Regions from separate parts of the Homo sapiens genome. Here regions 1, 2 and 4 are each linked to region 3. The links are contacts of gene promoters, found by promoter capture Hi-C in human tissues and cell types (Jung and others, 2019). All regions are on one chromosome and are shown on one strand. The core of a region is centred on a gene start or on the middle of the fragment in contact, and the rest is flanking DNA. Distances in the headings are between cores, read along the strand shown.

Evidence for each region. Contacts are between HindIII fragments. The study calls those that stand out against the background at their distance.
Region 1: the fragment with the promoter of KDM1A here is called in contact with the fragment with the promoter of ASAP3 in region 3 in 1 of the 25 tissues and cell types used here (heart right ventricle).
Region 2: the fragment with the promoter of LUZP1 here is called in contact with the fragment with the promoter of ASAP3 in region 3 in 1 of the 25 tissues and cell types used here (pancreas).
Region 4: the fragment with the promoter of PITHD1 here is called in contact with the fragment with the promoter of ASAP3 in region 3 in 1 of the 25 tissues and cell types used here (mesendoderm cells).

What each region holds. Positions count from the first base shown.
Region 1 is chr1:23,018,166-23,021,771 of GRCh38, forward strand. It overlaps KDM1A (lysine demethylase 1A), which reads left to right and starts at 1,303. Exons shown (of 21, transcript NM_001009999.3): 1 at 1,303-1,782. The coding sequence starts at 1,432. RefSeq lists enhancers at 1,107-1,794, 1,795-2,480 and a silencer at 1,550-1,619. The HindIII fragment of the contact is 14,593 bases long and covers 1-3,606 here.
Region 2 is chr1:23,166,935-23,170,808 of GRCh38, forward strand. LUZP1 (leucine zipper protein 1) reads right to left here and starts at 1,922. Exons shown (of 4, transcript NM_001395462.2): 1 at 1,832-1,922. RefSeq lists enhancers at 628-1,159, 1,160-1,691, 2,767-2,816 and silencers at 931-1,070, 2,062-2,121. The HindIII fragment of the contact is 15,099 bases long and covers 1,714-3,874 here.
Region 3 is chr1:23,482,241-23,485,915 of GRCh38, forward strand. ASAP3 (ArfGAP with SH3 domain, ankyrin repeat and PH domain 3) reads right to left here and starts at 1,939. Exons shown (of 25, transcript NM_017707.4): 1 at 1,765-1,939. The coding sequence starts at 1,893. RefSeq lists silencers at 1,774-2,223, 2,344-2,453, 2,464-2,513 and an enhancer at 2,704-2,803. The HindIII fragment of the contact is 29,915 bases long and covers 1-3,675 here.
Region 4 is chr1:23,776,624-23,780,401 of GRCh38, forward strand. PITHD1 (PITH domain containing 1) reads left to right here and starts at 1,795. Exons shown (of 6, transcript NM_020362.5): 1 at 1,795-2,090; 2 at 2,815-2,858; 3 at 3,241-3,318. The coding sequence starts at 1,893. ELOA-AS1 (ELOA antisense RNA 1) reads right to left here and starts at 1,674. Exons shown (of 4, transcript NR_038280.1): 1 at 1,576-1,674. RefSeq lists enhancers at 519-1,471, 2,725-3,778 and silencers at 1,725-2,034, 2,125-2,174. The HindIII fragment of the contact is 12,544 bases long and covers 1-3,778 here.

The DNA of each region.
Region 1 (3,606 bases), core at 53-2,552, 460 kb before region 3:
ACTATGTTGCTCAGGCTGGACTTGAATGAACTCCTAGGCTCAAGTGATTCTCCCACCTCAGTCTCTCGAGCAGCTGGTACTACAAGTGCGTGCCACGCCACTCGGATACATTTTCTTTCTTGCATAGCTTTTACTTTTTTTCCTTTCTACATTTGATTGCCTTTTTGTCTGTTTGCTTAGTTTTTTACAAAAAACAACTTTACTGAAGTACTACAGTTACATAAAACATACCTGTTTTACATGGATAGTTCATAGAGTTTTGACAAATATATACACCTATGTAACCATCACCCTAATCAAGATATAAAACATTTCCATCACCCCCAGCAAGTTCTTTCTTGTTCTTTTGCAGTCAACCCCCGACCCCCATCTCAGGCAAGGGCTGATTGGAGCCTATTACTGGAGATTAGTTTTACCAGTTCTTGAACTTCATGTAAATGGAATAATTTTTTGACAATTTCACTTCGAAGAGACAGACTATTAAAAAGACAATTGTTTGTGTAATAAGTACACGCATGCTAAAAGTACACGACCTGTTCCAGTTTTGGGTTAGCAAGGGATTCCTCGAAAAATTAAAAGAATAAACCGCTACTATCATTATTAGAAAGAATTAACCTGGAGTAGAAAGAGGTGTTATGTGGATGGGGATGGGGGACATGAAGGATGGGGGACATGGGGGATGGGGGACATGGGGGATGGGAGAAGCGCAAGACATGGAGTGCGAATGAGGTTGGGGTCCAGCCAGAAGGAAAAGCATGAACAAAGGCTTGGAGACAAGAGCAATTCCGTCTGGACTCAAACCTGGATTTCGTAACTTGTCTCCATTTTACTACCATCGAAACTGCTGTGCTCTCCAAGTTTTTTGCCCAGTCCAAGCAGGGCAATTATGAATAAGTAAGACGCTCTACCAACATATTTCAGTGTTTTCCCCCATTAGACTGTAAGTTCTTTGAAAGCTAGAACTTCATAATGTAACCCTTGTTACGTAGTAGGCAAGCATTAATAAATACTGGTTGAATTAACGAATAATTGGGTGAGTGAATGAACGAACGCACGCATGCAAACCCGAAAGTCCCTGGAGGAAATGGTCACCTTCGGAGGTTTAGTCTGGCCCAGAAGCCCTAAGACCACGGACTGTGCCAGGTCCCACTCCAAACGCCGGGGAGACGCTCTAGGCAAGCTACACGTTCTTTGCTGCGGTGCCACTCTAGCCGCGAGAACGCCGCTCTATGGCTGCGGGGGAGGGGCGGGGCTCGTGGGTGTCTCCGACCCTTTTTGTCCCGGCGCGGCGGGAGCGCGCTTGGCGCGTGCGTACGCGACGGCGGTTGGCGGCGCGCGGGCAGCGTGAAGCGAGGCGAGGCAAGGCTTTTCGGACCCACGGAGCGACAGAGCGAGCGGCCCCTACGGCCGTCGGCGGCCCGGCGGCCCGAGATGTTATCTGGGAAGAAGGCGGCAGCCGCGGCGGCGGCGGCTGCAGCGGCAGCAACCGGGACGGAGGCTGGCCCTGGGACAGCAGGCGGCTCCGAGAACGGGTCTGAGGTGGCCGCGCAGCCCGCGGGCCTGTCGGGCCCAGCCGAGGTCGGGCCGGGGGCGGTGGGGGAGCGCACACCCCGCAAGAAAGAGCCTCCGCGGGCCTCGCCCCCCGGGGGCCTGGCGGAACCGCCGGGGTCCGCAGGGCCTCAGGCCGGCCCTACTGTCGTGCCTGGGTCTGCGACCCCCATGGAAACTGGAATAGCAGAGACTCCGGAGGGGCGTCGGACCAGCCGGCGCAAGCGGGCGAAGGTAAGGCTCGACCCTTCCCTCAAACGACACCGCCTGGTGCCGAGCTTCCCCGAGGCTTCTCCGCCCTCCCCCGCCGCCGCCGGGTCTTGGGCCCTGCGACCACTCAGACCTCCCCTTGTATCGCTGCGCACGCCACGTCCCCTCTAGCTGGACGGGTGGGGTGAGAAAGGAAAAGTCTTTGCCGGTGTTGACTGCGGTCTTTGTGCTGGGTCCCGAGCGACGTGGGAAGGGGCATCGATGATTGCTGGGAGGGGTATTTTATTCCTTAGGTCTTTCTTGCACACCTTTTCATTTTCTTGACTGGAAAATGGCTCCCTGACGTGGGGTTACGGTTGGCGTTCTTGGAGACCTCACTTGTTTGTTCACAGATAGGTCTGGAAGCTGTTGGGCGATATTGATGGCGTTTCAGCTGGGTGCACGAGGGGGCTGTAGGTTGATGCTGAAGAAATCGCCTTAGCCGGGGAGATGAAAAGAAAGGGTCGTTTTTGCTTTTGTTTTTGTTTGAGCAAAACCCTGCTGTGTGGTAGGAGTTCTAGTCTTTTTTTTTTTCTTTTTTAAAATCCTCTCAGCGATCTTTTGGCGCAGAATTTTGCAGATGAGGAAGCTGCTGATTGAGAGAGCAAATAATAGTCAAAATGCAAATATATGGGAAGAAAAGATTTGACTCCAAACAGTATATACAGACAGTGACTGCCTCAAATGTCTGTGTCCTAGATGCTATATTCAGCGTGTCACCAACATTACTTTTTTTTGTTGTTGTTAAATATCAACGGGCAGGTATTGCTAGCCCTATTTTAGGAATGAGTAAACTGAGGCACACAATTTAAGCAACTTGCCTAAAGTCACAAAGCTAAATAAGTGATGGAAGTGGAATGTAATTCCCACATTCATGTTGTTACAGGGTATCATCAGCCCTTGAAACAAAGGACCACATGGGACACTGTGTGCAGGGCACTGGGGCAGTATTAGGGCGCAGACTTTAGACTTGGGCCTTTTCTGGAGATTTAATGGTCGGTCTAGTTGGAAAAAACAACCTGGATATATATGTGCGTGTAGTCAACATTTAAATAAAAATTTGCAGATTATATAATTTATGCCTGAAAAAATTGTCTACATAATTTTTAAGTGGGAATACCAAGTCAGTGTGTATGGGGAGCTTCTTGAGATGAGTATTACCCAGTCTGAGAGCTCTCATATTTATCTGCCTACTTGAGCCAACTCTCTAAAGTATAACCAGTGCTGGATGAAAGACCGTTTTGGAGGCAAGACTTTCTGGAGCTTTTACCAAAGCATGGGTTAGAAAAGCACAGAGGTTGGTGACACCAGCCCTCAGAAATGAAATAAAGGGCAGAAGTCAAGAGTGTTATTTTACGATTTCAATAGACAGGTGGCCAGAAGCCACGTATAAGATGTTTTTAAAAACAGATTTATTGGCTGGGCACAGTGGCTCACTCCTGTAATCCCTGCACTTTGGGAGGCCAAGGCGGGTGGATCACCTGTGGTCAGGAGTTCGAGACCAGCCTGGCCAACATGATGAAACCCCCGTCTCTACTAAAAATACAAAAAATTAGCCGGGCGTGGTGGCGGGCGCCTGTAATCCCAGCTACTCCGGAGGCTGAGTTAGGGAGAATTGCTTGAACCCGGGAGGCAGAGGTTGCAGTGAGCCCAGATCGTGCCACTGCACTTCAGCCTGGGCAACAAGAGCGAAACTGTCTAAAAGCAAACAAAAAAACAGGCTTATTGGGATAATGCATGTATAATAATATTCACCATTTTAAAATGTATGATTCAGTGGTTTTTAGCATATTTACAAGATTGTACAGC
Region 2 (3,874 bases), core at 672-3,171, 320 kb before region 3:
TTTCCAGCTTTTCAAACTTTAGTTACTATGTTTAGAAAAGTGATTTAATTTTAGAAACCTGGAAAATTCTTCTAGGAGTAAATTCTTCTAGGAGTAAATTGAGCAAAACCTTAATCTGCCCCCAGGGGAATTCTGAGCAAAACAATTATTTCTGACAAAAGAAGAATTTTCTATGGGGGTAATTCAATTTAACCACATGAATACTACCAAAGTTGCAAACAAGGTGACAGAAGGCAATCTGGAACACACCTTCCAGATTCCCCAAAAAGAAATGTCCTCCTAAAATCCAAACCCCTCCCTCCCTAATTTGAGGTAGTCAAATCTTATTAGGTGATCTGAATTCTCCCGGCTCTGACACCAGTCCAGCTCCTTAGGCCAGAACTGCAGCCGTCTGTAAAAGAAATACCCTGAGCAAACCCCACCCCTCAAAACATCCCCAAAAGGCAGGGAGGTCCAGAGAGTATTTTCTCCTCCAACGACAGATAAGGCACCAAGGGCTCAGCAGCGCAATCCTTCTCCCAAGGTCATTCAAGTCAGTGAAGGTGCGACGGTGGAGCTGCAGGCAGTCTGGCCTTCTGGAAATCACACTACAGGGGTTTTGGGGGTGCCTACTCTCTTCCCCTCTCCCACCCGCAAGGGTGAGCACTGGCCTCGGCATTCCCGAAACAAGCCACAACAAGCTCTGCAGTGTTAGGAAAGGGGTTGACGCGATGAAGAAACAGATGCTCCAAAGCAAGATGGTCTTTCTCGGCTCACAGAGGCTCCTCCAAGGTTATGCACAGAAACCGCAGCCACCTCCAAGAGCTCTAAACCGGGCTCCGAAGCCCCAGCGCGGCCGCTGCGGGTCGCCAGGTTCCCTGCAGGCAGGCTCCGCAGCCAGAGGCCACCAGCCCCAGAAACCGCACTTCATTCCTGCGCTCCGGGAAGCCATGGCTCCTTCCCTGCCCGGGCGGCTGGGCGGGGGCCGGGGGTGCGCCGGGAGGCGGGCCCCGCGCTGCGGAAAGTTCACCGCGGCGGGCGGGGGGAGGCCCCGGCCCCGCTCGCCGGCGTCCCCCTGCAGATTCCACCATTAATTAGTCCTAAGGACTGTCTACTGGCAACTTAAACAAAGCGAATGCCTCGAATTCCTTCCCGGCCCAGCGGTCTGGCTGCGAGACCAGCAGAGCGCCCGGGACGCGGGCCGGCGCGGCCGACAGCTGCGGCGGCCGCGGGACCCCTCCCCGCCCGGCCCGCGGCCCGCGCCCCGCGCCCGCAGCTGGCCCCGCACGCCGGCCCGACGCGCTCCCAAACCGCCCTCCTCCTCCTGCTGCTGCAGCTCCCGGGCCCTTCCTGTCTGATCACTTCCTTCCTCCGGTGCCCGCCGGGCCCCGCGCAGCCCCCTCCACGGCCGCCTCGTCGCCCCCCGCCCCTGTCGGCCCGCGCCCCCTCCCCCAACCCCAAACTCTACCCCCGAAACTCTTCGCCGCCCCCTCGAAAATGTCTCCTCCGCGTCTCTGCCCCAAACATTTCTCCTCAGAGTCTCGCTCCCACCAAGAAGTCTCCTCAGAACCTTCCCTCCCCCTCCCGAGGAAAAATCTCCTCAGAGTCTCTTCCTCCAACTCCACAAACATGTGCTGGGTCTCGCCCCAAAAGGTCTCCTCCTGAGCCCTTCCTCCAAAATCCATTCCAACTCTCCCCCAACTCCACACCCCATCTCTCCTCGGCTGCGCCCGCGGTTTCTTCTGCCCCGTGGCCGCGGGTGCCCCGACCTCACCCGGGACCGGCCTCCCAACCCCGCCGCCCTCCCCTCCCCGCGCCGCGCTCCCGCCGCCGCCGCCTCACGGACCCTCACCTCTGCGGCCCCGAACCGCGCTCCCGCCAGCGAAGGGTTCCGCCGCTCAGCTGCCAGCGACCGGCGCCTCCTCTGGCTCCGCGGGACTGACAATGAGGGGCGGGGCCAAATTGTGACGTCAGCGTTCTGGAAGGCGGGGTCTTTGTGATGGGCGGGGTTGTCTGTAGGCCCCGCCCCCTCCGTCCTTTTTTTCCCTTCCCAGGACTTAGACTCCACCAAGTTTTTATTGCCTCCGTAGCTGGGTCCTGTGCTAGGCGCCCTGGGAAATCGAAATGGAAGACAAGACTTCTCGATTTCAGGAGGGACACTTTCGGCCCGCGTGGTGGCTCAAGTCTGTAATCCCAGAACTTTGGGAGGCTGAGGCGGACGGATCGCTTAAACTCAGAAGTTCGAGACCAGCCTGGGCAACATGGCGAAACCCCATCTCTATAAAAAATACAAAAATTAGCCGGGAGTGGTGGCGCCCGCCGGTAAGCTAAAGTAGGAGGATCGCTTGAGCCGAGGGAGGTCGAGGCTGCAGTGAGCCGTGATCGTGCCACTGCACTCCGGCGTGGGTGACAGAGTGAGACCCTGTCTCAAAAGAAAAAGAAAAAAGCGGGACACTCTCAGTAGGGTTGTGAGGATTAAATGAGATAATCAATGGAAAGGTGCTTAGCCTAGAACCTGATATGGAATAATCACTCAACAAATCCTATTTCTATTACTCTGCAAATGCAGAGAAGGAACTCAGCTCAGACTCGGGAGGCATGGGTTCCCGTCCCCCACTGTGCTATTAATTCTTTGTGTGATGCTAGACAAGTACTTTCCCATCTATGTTCCCGATTTTCATCTTCTTTAAAATGGGAAGGGGGAATAACCAGATGATCTCAAAATCCCCTCCCATACTTCTATGACATACTTCCTTTAAGTCTACTATCTAAAAGGCACCTAGTGCCCTGAGAAGCCAGGAGGAAGGCTTCAAAGACAGCCCAAGACCCACACCCAGCATAGTACAGGACACAGCCAGAGACTGCTCTCGCTGCGGATGCCCTCCCACACGCTGGCACGCAGCAGCATTCACAAGCCAGGACACAGATGGGCTGAGGGCTGCTTCCTCTCTGACTACAGCAGCATGGTTGGTCTCTTGAGACATCTCTTGTGTAAGCTCTTTATTGCCTATGGAATAAAGGCCAAAGCCCTGGCCTGGTATGATCACTTCCTACCTTTACACACACACACACACACACACACACACAAAGTTTATCCAAACTTCTCTTAGCACACCCACTGCTTTCCCACATTTGACCCTTTGCTGAAGCTCTTCCCCTGCTGTCTCACCTCCCAGCTTCTCCCAGCCAGAAAGCAATCCTCCCTGTTCTGAATAACCAATAACATTGTGTTTAACCCTCACGTGGGCATGAACACTACAACTTATAAAGAACTGACCTCCCATTTGTTTCTTAGCACTTCCTGGAGGTCAGAACCCACACATGTTTGTGGAGCTCAAGCTCTGATGCCAGAAAACCCTGGGATCATATGTTCTGGGGTCATAATAGCCATCTCTGAGCCTGTCTTCTCATCTATAAAATGGGGATAATAATATAGTCTTGTGGTGTTTGTTTTAAAATTACCTAAGATACTGTATGGAAAACATCAGGCACAGTGTTCCACAAACAATATGAACAATATGATTGTCATTCTTATTTTCTTTTTCTTTCTTTTTTTTTTTTTTTTTTTTTGAGACGAATTTTCTCTCTTGTCGCCCAGGCTGGAGTGCAGTGGCACGATCTCAGTTCACTGCAACCTCTGCCTTCCAGGTTCAAGAGATTCTCCTGCCTCAGCCTCCCAAGTAGCTGGGATTACCGGCACTTGCCACCACACCTGGCTAATTTTTGTATTTTTAGTAGAGACGGTGTTTCACCATGTTGGCCACGCTGGTCTCGAACTCCTGACCTCAGGTGATCCACTCACCTTGGCCTCCGTAAGTGCTAGGATTACAGACGTGAGCCACCACATCAGGCCCCTGTCATTCTTATTTTCAGTAGTATTATATTGACCAGGCGC
Region 3 (3,675 bases), core at 689-3,188:
GGCCAGTGCAGCGGCTCACACCTATAATCCTAGTACTTTGAGAGGCCAAGGCGGATAGACTGCCTGAGCTCAGGAGTTCAAGAACAGCCTGACCAACATGGTGAAACCCTGTCTCTACTAAAAATACAAATATTAGCCGGGTGTGGTGGAGCATGCCTGTAATTCCAGCTGCTTGGGAGGCTGAGGAATGAGAATTGCTTGAACCCGGGAGGCAGAGATTGCAGTCAGCTGAGATCGCACCACTGTACTCCAGCCTGGGAGACAGAGCAAGACTCTGTCTCCAAAAAAAAGATGCATGCTTTATATGCATTGTCTCATGTGAGGTACACATTATTACCCCCATTCCACAGATGACAGGACAGGTCACATGCCCACGTTCACCCAAATGGCAAACTGCAGAGCCAGCGTTTGAAAAAAGGTCTGCCTTGGCCGGCGCGGTGGCTCACGCCTGTAATCCCAGCACTTTGGGAGGCCGAGACGGGCGGATCATGAGGTCAGGAGATCGAGACCATCCTGGCTAACACGGTGAAACCCCGTCTCTACTAAAAATACAAAAAAAAAATTAGCCAGGCGTAGTGGCGGGAGCCTGTAGTCCCAGCTACTCGGGAGGCTGAGGCAGGAGAATGGTGTGAACCTGGGAGGCGGAGTTTGCATTGAGCCAAGATCGCGTCACTGCACTCCAGCCTGGGCGACACAGCGAGACTCCGTCTCAAAAAAAAAAAAGGAAAGAAAAAAGGTCTGCCTTCCCCAAAGTCGATGCTCCTTCCACAATCCTCTATCACCCTTACAAAGTGATACAAACAGACTCCGAGATGGAGGGTCACCCTGACAAGAGAGAAGAGGACAGATTTCCTGACACTGGCGCAGGGTGTTATGAACTACTGAGCTTTGTATCTGCCACGCAGTGGGTGCCTAGTACACTTAAGGTGAAGGGTGGAAGGCTAGAGCCGTTGCTGAGGTCCAAAATGCCACCCAAATTGAGGGCATCCTTTGGATGGGGAGCTGCAAAAACACATTATTCTCCGTTGGACCAAGGCCACGGGGTGTCTGTCCTAGAATATTCTTTGCAGAGGAGCTGCGGAAAGCTGCAGCAGGTTCAGAGAAGAGGAATGGAAGGAACTCCGAAGAGCATGGGAATGGGGTGGGGCAGCCTGCAAGACCGAAAGAAAAGGCCTGGGACGCTTTGCTGGGAAAGACAAAGAGGAGAGGGGAGGGGAGAGGAGACGATAAACTTGCCAACAGCCCGGCCAAGGTGAACCCCGGCTCCTGGCGCCTTCCCATCCGCATTCATTCCACAAACGCGGGCCAAATCTCCGAACCAGCCGCAAGCGGGAGGGGGCCTCTCTGCAGCCGGGGGGAAGAAAGTTCAGGACTGAGGCGGGAAGCCTGCCTCTCAGAAGGGGAGTGACTCGGGGGGCACACTTGTGGGGCTCCGAAGATGAAAACGCAAACTGAGGCTGGAAGGCGCTAGGCAAACACATATGTGATGAGGCGGTCACGCGGGGCACTTGGGGTACGTCCCCCGACCTGTGGAGTTTGTCATCGAAGAGACCTCGAGGCCCCCCAAAACGGTCCCTCGGGCCTTCCCCCGCCTCGACGGTGAGGACGCAGCTGTTGGAGATGCGCTCGGTCCTCCCAGACCTAGGGAGGGGGCAGGTTTCGGGGCGCGGTGAAGGGCCATCGCAGCTCGGGTGCGACACGCCTGTGGAGGTCAAGGCCAGGCCCGGCGCCGACCCCCGACCCCTCCCGCCTCGGCCCCCTCACCTCCTCCCGCGCCAGCGCCGCCCCTCGGTACCGGGGCATCTTGGCGGCGAAGGCGGCGGCCCCAGCCGGGGAGCTGAGGTCCTCCGCGGTGACGGCCAGGAACTCGGCGACGCTGAACTGCTCCGGCATGGCGGGCGCGAGCGTGGAGCTGCCGGAGCGGGGCGCGGGGGGCACTGAGCTGCTCCGCGCTGAGCCGGCCTCACCGCCGGCCGGGGGCGCCGTCCCGGCCTCCACACGCCCCGCCCCTCCGCACGCCCCGCCCCCGACCCTCCAGCCGCTCTCCGCTCCTCAGCTGGGACGGCCCCGCCCCCGGCTCCTCGCCTTCCTCCACCGCCAAGGTCCAGGCTCCGGCCCCGGTCCCGGCCCCGCACCGCGTCAGGCCGCTTCCCCGGCCCCTCGCCGGCCCCCTAGGCCACGCCCCCAGCCCCTCACCGCCTCAGACCCCGCCCCCTGGCGCGATGCCCCACCCCTGGCCTCAGTAGAAACTCCTCCGCCTTCCCCCATCCCTGCCCCTTCAGGGCTCTGTCCCGTTTCATCCCGCTCTGGGTCTTCCAAATCCTCCTCCCTTGCACGGCCCAGGCTGTTCCATCTCCGCGTCGAGTCTTAGAGCCCCCTCCCTCTTCCTCCCTCCTCTGCTGATTCGTTCCGAGTTCCCCATGACCTCGCCCCTTCTGCCCTACCACCCCCCCGCCACCCTTCCCTCCTCTCTCCCCAGTCCCGCCCAATCTCCTTGCCTCGCTCCGCCCCGAATCGCCCCACCCCTCCTTTGCTGCGTACGCCCAGCTCTCAGCCTCAGCTTTGCAGGCATCCGGAGACTCCCTCCTGATAACCCCCGCCGCCCCGGGGATGTGTGGATCGGGGCCCCTGGCTAGCTGTGTGACTTGGGGAAAATTACTTCTCTTCTGGAACCTCAGTTTCCTTATCTGTACAATGGGAAGCCTGATGCCCGCTTGATTGTGATGTTGCGAAGAACCGAACACGTGCGTGTACTAGTTCCCTCTTACCCGACCATAGATCGCACCCACGCCTTTACTCTTCCTGCTCCTGCCTTTCACCCCTTAATCTGGCTCACCATCCTTTGGGGCGGATGAGGGATGGGGTTCAGGATAGAAATCCACTTAGGTTTAGTTCTGAAGCCTGAGGTCCTCTGGGGAAAAGTTCTCCAAGTAAAAAGCTAGGAAAGCACCGCAGCAAGGAACATTGGTTTTGGAGTCAGAGGAACCTAGATTCCAATCTTGGTTACTTTGGATAAATTGCTTGCTTCTCTAAGCCTGCATTTCCCCCTCTTAAAATGGCCTCATGGTATTTTACCCCACAGGGCGGCGATTGAGAGAATCTTTTCTTTTCTCGCACAGAAAAGAAAAGAAAAGAAAAAATCCGGAAAGATATGCACTAAAATGTTGCACCAGCAACATTTTATGCACTAGCTGAAGACAGATATGCACTAGCTGAAGACATTATGAGTAACTTTCTTTTCTTTTGGTGAATCTGTATATCCTAACTTTTATACAATGACCATATACTACTGTGTAATAGAATTAAAAGTTGACGGGAGCGATGGCTCATGCCTGTAATCTTAGCACTTTGGGAAGCCGAGGTGAGCGGATTGTTCAGGAGTTCAAGGCCAACCTGAGCAACATGGCGAAACCTTGTCTCTACAAAATATACAAAAATTAGCCCGGCGTGGTGGCTCTTGCCTGTAGTCCCAGCTACTTGGTGGGCTGAGGCAGGAAAATGGCTTAAACCTGGGAGGTCAAGTTTGCAGTGAGCTGAGATCCTGCCATTGCACTCCAGCCTGGGTGACAAAGTGAGACCCTGTCTCAAAAAAAAAAAAAAAGAAAAAGAAAAAGAAAAGAAAGAAAAAAGAATTAAAAGTTGAAAAAAATGTGTACCATCTGATAGAGACGACAA
Region 4 (3,778 bases), core at 545-3,044, 290 kb after region 3:
TCAGGAGATCCTTCCACTTCAGCCTCCCAAATAGCTGGGACCACAGGCATGAGCCACCATGCTGGGCTAATATTTTTAATTATTTTTGTAAAGATGGGGTCTCCCTATGTTGCCCAGGCTAGTCTCAAACTCCTGGGCTCAAGTGATCCTCCCACCTTGGCCTCCCAAAAGTGCTGAGATTACAGGCATGAGGCACTGCATGTGGCCCAGAAAATATTTCTGAATGGAACTTGAAAAAATGGATATTTTGGTCTATACTTCACCAGCCCCACTGAGCACTCCAGAGCCAGATGTGAAGGGAAGAGGGTAGCCAGGGTATCCCATAACTCTCTTTCTGTATCCTGTCTTTTCCCCACCAGGGAGTAGGAAAACATTCTATCCTGAAAACAAGATTATTTCACCTCTAAACAGTGACTTTTAATTATTTTGATCTCAACCCACAATATGAAAAACACATCATATTGTGTCTGAATACAAACTCAAAACTGAAACAAAAGTTTCATCAATTGAGACTTGAAATGTGTGATACATTCTGGGTTTTTTTTTTTTTGTATTCTATTTTTTTTTTAAATGTTGATCACAATTCTCTATAAACGGATTTTAAAACCTATTGACAGGCCACAACCAGCTGTTCGAAAAAAAGTACTTTGAAATATCACATGGGGGAGGAAACGCAGAGATCATCTAGTCCAATCCCTTCACTTCACAGGGGGTAAACTGAGTCTCAGAAGATCAAGTCACTTGCCCAAGGCCACGCAGCTAGTAAGTTGCTGTGGTTGGATTTGACCGTAATAACCATCGGCTACTGAATGCCCATCATGTGTCAGCCATTTGCTGAGTTTTTTCTTTTTTTTTCTTTTTGAGACAGAGTCTTGCTCTGTCGCCAGGCTGGAGTGCAGTGGCGCGATGTCGGCTCACTGCAACCTCTGCCTCCCGGGTTCAAGCGATTCTCCTGCTTCAGCCTCCCGAGTAGCTGGGACTACAGGCTCGCGCCACCACGCCTAGCTAATTTTTGTATTTTTAGTAGAGACGGGGTTTCATCATGTTGGCTAGGATGGTCTCGATCTTTTGACCTCGTGATCCGCCCGCCTCGGCCTCCCAAAGTGCTGGGATTACAGGCGTGAGCCACCGCGCCCGGCCTGCTGAGTTCTTTAATTGCATTATTTCATTTAATACTCACTGTGATCCTATGAAACAGATACTATTCTTTCCACCTTACAGACGGGGAAACGGAGTCTCAGAATAGGGGAAATGACTTAAGGTGTCACAATGGCCAGTAGCAGACCCAGGAGTAGTCTTTAGGTCTGGCCGTGCACAAAGCCCCATGCTCTCAAGCTGTAACCCCGCTATCAAGAAAGTGGTTATGCAAGTGGGCCTGTGAGCTCTCAACGTCTAAGCCGTGCGCATGTGAGACAGCGATAAGCTCGCGTTCTCCAGTCTCCAGGGCCTTATCATTCCTCACGCTTTCCTTCATCGGCTCGCAAAGAAACGTGGCGATCAAGGAAGACAGCGAAGGCTCCATCCTCGTCGGGGGAGGATAATTCGAATCTCAGCCTGTGAGTTTACTCAGCACACCTGTTTAATCTCTTGGTCCTTCAGTTTCCACACCTAGGAAGCTGGAACAGCAGCAGCATCCAGCGCCAGGACTGGAGTCATATACGAACTCTGGCACCTGGGAGGCGCGCGTCCTACGTCAGTTCCGCTCGACCCCACCCCCCCCGCCCCCCCGCCTTCTCCCCACGCGCATGCGCCGCGCAGCGGCGCTTTTTACGACGCGGCAGGCGCGGCGCGCTTAGTTGCCGGAGCTGAACGGCGCGGAGCTGGTCTGAGGCGAGCCGAGCCGAGCGAGCGCGGCGGTGGGGCCGAGAGGACGCGCAGGTGGCGGCGTTGCCATGTCGCACGGTCACAGCCACGGCGGGGGTGGCTGCCGCTGCGCCGCCGAACGGGAGGAGCCGCCCGAGCAGCGCGGCCTGGCCTACGGCCTGTACCTGCGCATCGACCTGGAGCGGCTGCAATGCCTTAACGAGAGCCGCGAGGGCAGCGGCCGCGGCGTCTTCAAGCCGTGGGAGGAGCGGACCGACCGCTCCAAGGTGGGCCGCCTGGGGCTTGGGGCGGGCGGGGCAGGGTGCGTGTGGGGCCTCGGGCCGTCGGTCTACTCATTTCTGATGTTAAGAATAACGACAGCCTGGTTGCCAAGCGCTTTTCCGTGCCTGTCTCCTGCCAGCTCTTTGGGAGGCGAGCAGCGTTGTCTCCCCATTTTGCATATAGGGAAACTGAGGCCTAGAGGGAACGGGGACAGTTTTGTCAAGCTACACAGCCTAACGCTCTATTCCAGGGCTGTGTGGGCTAGAGAGGATGGTCGTGAGGGCCGTTGGACCATTGGTGCTAATGGCTGCCTCATCATATTACCTGGTGAAGATGAGCCTAGGGAGATGAAAGGTGGTTCCCATATAGAGCAAATGTTCTTTACATTGTGGGGTCGCAGGCCCCTTTGCTATCTGTTTGAAAGCAGTGGACCTTCTTCTCAGAAAAATGCACATAAACACCTGCCTTTCAGTTCACACTTCAGAAGGCTCTTCGACCCTGGAAATTCATTCATGGGCTTTTTGTTAAGAACCTTCCAGTTGGGTGGCCTGTGGCTGTTATGACACTGGATAAGACTGGTTAGCTTCAAGTTAATAAGTCTTGGAAAACCAAGGGAGAGTGACTCTTCCCATTGCACCCCAGTTGTAGAGCAGGGTGGGAGATGCCTGAAATTGTAGGCTCTCAGCAAATATTTGTTGCTTTCTCCTCCCCCCTCCCCATCCCCTCCAGTTTGTTGAAAGTGATGCAGATGAAGAGCTTCTGTTTAATATTCCGTAAGTATCTCCTTGGTGCCTACCTCAGGCTAAATAGGCTGTACCCAGTTGCCTCAGATGGATTCATTCACTGGTGTCAAGAGCACACATTTGCTTCTAGAAATGGGATAAATTACTTTGGTGGGTTTGAGGAGGAAAGCATCATAGCTTTCTTGGTGCAGACTGGAAACAGATGTATTTGTAGAACAATAACTGAGAAATTGAGGTAGATTTCTTAGAATTGTAGAATGCTAGAGGTAGACAGGATCTTAGAAATTATCTAGTACAAGTTGACAGATGAGTAAACTGAAGCCCATACAGGGGAAGGGTCTTGCCCAGGGTCACACAACTAAACAGGTATTCAAACTCAGGTTTGACAACCTTCTCTTTTGCATTCTGGCAGATTTACGGGCAATGTCAAGCTCAAAGGCATCATTATAATGGGAGAGGATGATGACTCACACCCCTCTGAGATGAGACTGTAAGTGGCAAAGGCTTAGGCCCTCAAAGGAGCTCCTAATTCTCTTTTTCTGGTAACATTTTATTCCAGAATAGTATCATTTTCTTCTTACCGGGTTTAATATTTCCCCTTTTAAAATATCTTGGTCCTGTTCTCATTCTGCATTGGAATACATATATTTCTTCCTGAATTAATGACTTTTTTAGATTAAGCATCTTTAGGCCCAACAGCGTGTCTCATATTTCAAAGTGCTTACTATGACATGATTCATTCAGAGAGCATTGTGTAAATGTCACTTGTTGATGACTCTGCAGTTTTCTTAATAACTAGCTGCAGATCTCATATGATCTTTATGGATTCTAGGGGTTAGCTTCAACATTTTTCCTTGCTATTTCATACAGTAATGATCTTATGTGTTTTGTTGACATGGAATTGCTCCACCTGACTTTGCGTGGCATTTAGTTAGCAAAGTTGTGTATAC